2 separate regions of the Homo sapiens genome follow, and region 2 is linked to region 1. The links are contacts of gene promoters, found by promoter capture Hi-C in human tissues and cell types (Jung and others, 2019). All regions are on one chromosome and are shown on one strand. Each heading gives the region's core, a stretch centred on a gene start or on the middle of the fragment in contact. The rest is flanking DNA. Distances are from core to core; before and after follow the strand shown. Region 1 holds the start of SLC35G3 (solute carrier family 35 member G3). Region 2 overlaps SLFN12L (schlafen family member 12 like).

What was found. The method cuts DNA at HindIII sites, captures the fragments that hold promoters and counts their contacts. A contact is called where the count stands out against the background at its distance.
Region 2: a contact is called between a fragment that was not itself captured here and the fragment with the promoter of SLC35G3 in region 1, in 2 of the 25 tissues and cell types used here (mesenchymal stem cells and spleen).

What each region holds. Positions count from the first base shown.
Region 1 is chr17:35,192,410-35,196,016 of GRCh38, reverse strand. It overlaps SLC35G3 (solute carrier family 35 member G3), which reads left to right and starts at 1,624. Exons shown (of 1, transcript NM_152462.2): 1 at 1,624-3,497. The coding sequence starts at 1,710. The coding sequence ends at 2,726. The HindIII fragment of the contact is 5,493 bases long and covers 1-3,607 here.
Region 2 is chr17:35,498,105-35,501,711 of GRCh38, reverse strand. The region is part of intron 2 of SLFN12L (schlafen family member 12 like); the gene reads left to right. It also overlaps the pseudogene TAF5LP1. Among named protein-coding and RNA genes, the nearest start is that of SLFN12L, 38 kb to the left of the region's middle. The HindIII fragment of the contact is 5,568 bases long and covers 1-3,607 here.

The DNA.
Region 1 (3,607 bases), core at 375-2,874:
ACGGTCTCCGTTTCCCTGTCTTTCCACGGTCTCCCTCTGATGCGGAGCCGAAGCTGGACTGTACTGCTGCCATCTCGGCTCACTGCAACCTCCCTGCCTGATTCTCCTGCCTCAGCCTGCGATTGCAGGTGCGCACCGCCACGCCTGACTGGTTTTCGTATTTTTTTGGTGGAGACGGGGTTTCGCTGTGTTGGCCAGGCTGGTCTCCAGCTCCTAACCACGAGTGATCTGCCAACCTCGGCCTCCCGAGGTGCCGGGATTGCAGACGGAGTCTCATTCACTCAGTGCTCAATGTTGCCCAGGCTGGAGAGCAGTGGCGTGATCTCGGCTAGCTACAACCTCCACCTCCCAGCCGCCTGCCTTGGCCTCCCAAAGTGCCGAGATTGCAGCCTCTGCCCAGCCGCCACCCCGCCTGGGAAGTGAGGAGCGTCTCCGCCTGGCCGCCCATTGTCTGGGATGTGAGGAGCCCCTCTGCCCGGCTGCCCAGTCTGGGAAGTGAGGAGCGCCTCTTCCCGGCCGCCATCCCATCTAGGAAGTGAGGAGCGCCTCTTCCCGGCCGCCATCCCGTCTAGGAAGTGAGGAGCGTCTCTGCCCGGGGGCCCATCGTCTGAGATGTGGGGAGCGCCTCTGCCTGGCCGCGACCCCATCTGGGAGGTGAGGAGCGTCTCTGCCCGGCCGCCCCATCTGAGAAGTGAGGAGCCCCTCCGCCCCGCAGCTGCCCCATCTGAGAAGTGAGGAGCCCCTCCGCCCGGCAGCCGCCCCGTCTGAGAAGTGAGGAGCCCCTCCACCCGGCAGCCGCCCCGTCTGGGAAGTGAGGAGCTTCTCTGCCCGGCAGCCGCCCCGTCCAGGAGGGAGGTGGGGGGCAGCCCCCGCCGGGCAAGCTGCCCCGTCTGGGAGGGAGGTGGGGGGTCAGCCCCCGCCCGGCCGCTGCCCCGTCCGGGAGGTGGGGGGCACCGCTGCCCGGCCGCCCCTTCTGGGAAGTGAGGAGCCCCTCTGCCCGGCCACCACCCCGTCTGGGAGGTGTACCCAACAGCTCATTGAGAACGGGCCATGATGACGGTGGTGGTTTTGTGGAATAGAAAAGGGGGAAAGGTGGGGAAAAGATAGAGAAATCAGATTGTTGCTGTGTCTGTGTAGAAAGAAGTAGACATGGGAGACTTCATTTTGTTCTGTACTGGGAAGGGTTCTTCTGCCTTGGGATGCTGTTGATCTGTGACCTTGCCCCCAGCCCTGTGCTCTCTGGGGCATGTGCTGTGTCCACTCAGGGTTAAATGGATTAAGGGCGGTGCAAGATGTGCTTTGTTAAACAGATGCTTGAAGGCAGCATGCTCGTTAAGAGTCATCACCACTCCCTAATCTCAAGTACCCAGGGACACAAACACTGCAGAAGGCCGCAGGGTCCTCTGCCTAGGAAAACCAGAGACCTTTGTTCACTTGTTTATCTGCTGACCTTCCCTCCACTATTGTCCTATGACCCTGCCAAATCCCCCTCTGCGAGAAACACCCAAGAATGATCAATAAAAAAAAACAAAAAACAAAAAAAGAAAGAAAAGAAGCAGAGTTGGACTCAGTGGGAAAATAGGCGTGCTACCACCTCAGGAGAGTTCCAGGGAAGAATCCCACCCCCACTCCAATGAGGTCACAATGGCTGGAGCTCTGAGGGGCCCAGGCTCCCTGAGCCAGGAGGAGAGGAGAAAGTCCAAGGAAAGATGGCTGGCAGTCACCCCTATTTCAACCAGCCTGACTCCACACACCCATCGCCGCCCTCCGCTCCACCCAGCCTCCGCTGGTACCAGCGCTGCCAGCCCTCTGATGCCACCAGTGGCCTGCTGGTGGCCCTGCTGGGTGGGGGCCTGCCTGCTGGCTTCGTGGGCCCCCTTTCTCGTATGGCTTACCAGGCTTCCAACCTGCCCTCGCTGGAGCTGCTCATCTGGCGATGCCTCTTCCACCTCCCTATTGCCCTGCTACTTAAACTGCGTGGCGACCCCCTTCTGGGAACTCCTGACATCCGAAGCCGGGCCTTCTTCTGTGCCCTGCTCAACATCCTCAGCATTGGATGTGCCTACAGTGCGGTTCAGGTGGTGCCCGCTGGCAACGCTGCCACTGTTCGCAAAGGTTCTTCCACCGTCTGCTCCGCCGTCCTCACTCTCTGCCTTGAGAGCCAGGGTCTCAGTGGCTACGACTGGTGTGGACTGTTGGGCTGCATCCTAGGACTAATCATCATTGTGGGACCTGGACTCTGGACACTACAGGAGGGGACCACGGGTGTCTACACCGCCCTGGGCTATGTGGAGGCTTTCCTGGGAGGCCTGGCGCTGTCCCTGAGGCTTCTGGTCTATCGTTCTCTGCACTTTCCCCCCTGCCTCCCAACAGTGGCCTTCCTATCTGGCTTGGTGGGGCTGCTGGGCTCTGTGCCAGGCCTCTTTGTGCTGCAGGCCCCCGTGTTGCCCAGTGACCTCCTGAGTTGGAGTTGTGTGGGGGCAGTGGGGATCCTCGCCTTGGTCTCCTTCACATGTGTGGGCTATGCGGTCACCAAGGCCCACCCTGCCCTGGTGTGCGCTGTCCTACATTCCGAGGTGGTTGTGGCCCTTATACTGCAGTATTATATGCTCCATGAGACTGTGGCACCTTCTGACATCGTGGCGGCAGGGGTTGTGCTGGGCAGCATTGCCATCATTACAGCCCAGAACCTCAGCTGTGAGAGGACAGGGAGGGTGGAGGAGTGAGATAGAACTTGGGAGCCCGGGGGTTGGGAGGGACAGGGATAAATAAAGGCAAAGACTGAAGACAAACATGGGAGGAGAAGTGACTGGAAAAGAACTGGTGTGGGAGAGGGATACCTCTCAGAGTCAAGGGTGACTTGGGGACTTGGTGGAGAGGGACTACGTGGAAGACCTGGGGCCAGCCTGGGACCAAGGGATGTGGAGTCCAGGCTGGGTCCTAGAATCAGGGCATAACTAAGGGGTAAAGTCTGAGGAGCAGATCCAAAGGGCTGAGGCAGGGAGGCCGTGGGCCATGGGGAGGACTTCACTCAGCAGCAAAGAGAAGAGCATTGGGGCTGGAGTGTTCCGGCAAAGACAGAGCCAGCAGCTGCGCTGGGGGAGGGAAGCGTGCCTCCCCACCCCTCCCCTCACGGGGAAGGTTTCCTTTCCTCGTGCTTGTGCCCCCCGCTTGGGGTGGTGACGTGACATTGACATCAAACAAGGATTACAGTGAATGTGAAAAAAAAAAAAAAAGATACCTGAATAGACATTTCTATGACATTTTAAAAGCCATGAATTTATTTTGGCACAAATATTTTATCATATGCAGTCACTTCTTTGTAAATGATTTTTTGTAAAGTCATTGGATATAAAAGAGTGATTTTCCTCACCTGAGTACATGAAAAGAAAATGCTGAAATCAATGTATAAATCAAATCATCTGTACTAGCACTGTTAATCTAGAAGAAAGTGGTTGCATAGAGAAGAGTAAGAATGTAGACCAGCTTATTGAAGTAGGAAAAGAAAAAAAAAAGGAGCTTCAGAGGTAGGCTTTGCCTCTTAAAAAAATTAAAAACATAAGTCACTGTGTTGTGCTTGGGAGTTAGCAGCAAAAAAAAAAAAAAA
Region 2 (3,607 bases), core at 516-3,015, 310 kb before region 1:
TGTCATAGTACTCCATAGTCTCCCTTAAATCTTTTCTTGAAATTTTTCCACATATTTCCTAGTGTGGTGGGCTTACTTTGTGCCTGACCCATGCTTCCTTGAGACAAAACACCACACTCACACCTCATGCACACCACAAAACAAAGAACGGATAAAAAGGGCACACACGCACTTTTACAGTTTACACCAAACCAGAATCAAAACCAAAATCAGAGTATCAAGAAATCCAAGCCAGGTCAAAACCAAAACCGAAGTATCAAGCAATCCAAGTCAAGTCAAAAACAAAAACCAAAGTGCCGGTACAGGCACGCTGTGGGTGATCAGGCCATGCTTCCACTAAAATGGAGTGGGCAAGGTCTAAAGACCAGTCTTACCAAGTTTCAGATGTCCGGACTCCAAGTGCCAGTTCCTCCTGGTGTTCAGCCACCATATTGATCCTCCATTGGGGTCTGCCATGCTCTGCTCTAACAAGGCATTCCACCAGGGAAAATGCCTACCCAGGAGTGCTCTCAGGATCCATGTTGCTCAAGCTGGCTGCAGTCCCCTGCAGGGATGCTCCACAGAGCAGGCCTAAGCTGCCTAAGGGGCTGCCTAGACCATGTCTGTTAATCACCTCGCTTTCTGGTCAGAATACCAAGCAATGTAGTAGGACAAGACACAGACAAAACCCCTCAGACACTGAGTTGTAGAAGGAAGGGCTTTATTCAGCTAGGAGCATTGGCAGACTCACGTCTCCAAAAACCGAGCTCCCCGAGTAAGCAATTCCTGTCCCTTTTAAGGGCTTACAACTCCAAGGGAGTCTGCGTGAAAGGGTCGTGATTGATTGAGCAAGCAGTGGGGTATATGACTGGGAGCTGCATACACCGGTAATCAGAATGGAGCACAACAGCACAGGGGATTTTCACAGTGCTTGTCTATGCAATGTCTGGAATCTATAGATAAAATAACCAGTTAGGTCAGGGGTCGATCTTTTTTTTTTTTTTGAGACAGAGTCTCGCTCTGTCACCCAGGCTGGAGTGCAGAGGCACAATCTTGGCTCACTGCAAGCTCTGCCTCCTGGGTTCATGCCATTCTCCTGCCTCAGTCTCCTGAGTATCTGAGACTACAAGCGCTTGCCACTATGCCCAGCTAATGTTTTGTGTTTTTAGTACAGACGGGGTTTCACCATGTTAACCAGGATGGTCTAGATCTCCTGACCTCATGATCCACCCGCCTTGGCTTCCCAAAGTGTTGGGATTACAGGCGTGAGCCACTGCGCCTGGCCAGGTCAGGGGTGGATCTTTAACCAGGCCTGAGGCATGGCGCCAGGCTATCTGCCTGTGGATTTCATTTCTGCCTTTTAGTTTTTACTTCTTCTTTCTTTAGAGGCAGAAATTGGCATAAGACAATATGAGGGGTGGTCTCCTCCCTTAGTTTAAAAAAAATACTAGAAATTAAAGCTTCTACGTAGGAATCAGACTCTTTACTCATCATAAGGAAATCCTTGAATTATACTGTCTCGGTTGCAGTAATCAAAAATTCAAAGGCCATACTAACTGGACGCAGACTCAGAAAACAGAAACAGGAAAACAATGGCTTAATTTAGCACACCGAATATTCTTGATATCCTTATCATTAACTGTAACTTAGTTAGCGTGATATTTTTGATCCTTAAGTTTTTAACATCGTATAAAGAATTTTCCATCCAAAGTAACATGAGGCAGAGCTACCTGAATTTCAGTGGTGATAAGACAAAAATATTTTGGCCCACAGCTTTCGCAGGAACACTCTGAAGGAAAGTTAACTCTGTGAAGTTTAATTTCTATCTTCCTTGGCCTACATTTTTTTCTAAGGTAGTGATTTTCAGTGACCTGAAACCCAAGCTGCGCCTGCCCTTTTCAATGACTAAATGGTTACAAACCAAAAAAGGTTGAACACTGACTGACAGGGGAGAGCTAGCAACTCTACTTCCTGTGTTACTTCTCAAAGTGGGGTCTGGGAACACCCTGGGGTACATGGATCCACAGGATACGGACTGGCCTCAGAAAGGCAATACCATCCAGTGTGGTGAGGGTGCAGGGACAGCAGTGTTCTCACTACTGCTGCTGAGACTGTGAAATGGCACAACCTTCTGTGGGAAAAGCAATATTCATTACAGTTTACAATGCAGGCCCTTTGACTCAGTAATCTTACTTCTAATTATTTATACCTGAGCAAATGTACGCACACATAAGTGCATATTTACTGCAAATCTCAGCTAAAGTCATTATTAGCTAAAGGTCTTTAATTAGGCTTAGGGTTGTTATCCACATTTCAGATAGTATAAATACTACCATTCATTAATAATGTTAAGTTACGTTGCTAAAAATTGTTTTTACACCTTAGGTTAGGCATGTGCAGGAATTCAATGGCTACAGGTTACATGGCATTAGTCTGGCTTTAGCTATATGATGAGGAAAATTAGGAAGTCCATTCTAAGATATGTCGTGTTTGGTAAGGACATTCTAAGCAAATTAGGAAGGCAGGTGCAGGGAAGAAAAAACGGTATTCACACATCCTCCTCCAGAATATCACAAGCCAAATGGATGCGGGACATGTCTACTTGACAGGACTCTGATTTTAACTTCCTGGATTGTAAGCTCCAAAGTTTTATACAGGAGTTGTCAAACCCAGCAGCAAGCAGCTTGCTATCAGGGGAGATTTCTGCAGTGTTCAACAGCTGCTAGGTGTTATAGAAGCAGACGGTAGTGAGGGAGGGACACCCATCCTTGACTTGCTTAATGCGCTCCTGTAAGACCTCCAGGGCAGCATCGTTCTGCAGAATAGGGCTGGGCATATCAGGGGCCTCCAAGTAATTGTTCTCACTGCGGGAGGAGCTGCCACTTGCATACAGCTGTTAGTCTGTTGTCTTGGCAGGCTGCACATCAAGATGAATAAGTAAGATAAACATTTTGCACAGGGCAGTATAGCTGTCACTTTGGAGGTAGTGGATAAGGTAGTTGTAGCTGTCTTCTTGGAGATGGACCACGTAATTGTTATCTAGGAATGCTCGAAGCTTGAAGTTAGATAGGATGTCCTGGATGGTTTGAGTGGTCTGTAGCTGCTCAATGACGCCCTTCTGGCTAGCTTTCTGCAGAAACATTCCATGGAAGCGGCTGTAAAAACTTTCCACTGTACTTTTTGGACTGTTCTGGACCAGGCTGAGATGGAGGCAGACAAAGAGAGGATAAAGGAGAGGCATCACTTCGTGGCTATGCGGGGAATCAGAATCGATGAGAAAATTCCGCAGTCGTCCAAACTGTACTTCATATTGCTGGGGCTCTGCCTGGCAAGGGACTGCAGACACTATGTCGGCACAATGAGATTCTCTGTGTACCGTGAGATTGGCCGCCAACTCTTCAGCAGTCTGTGGCAGCCGCAGTCCTTGCTTCAGGGGACCGTCTGAGTCCACGTACTGCCAGCGTTTGAGGTAGCAGGACACTGCCATCTGGATCTCCTCGGTACGCACTCATTTCATGACTGAACATCCCAGGCGGCCCCGGCTCCCCACGCCGCCGCCTCCCGGATCGAGATGCTTCCGCCTCCGTCGTCTCTGCTGCAGGTCTCGCTCTGACCGCCGGCTCAGCTG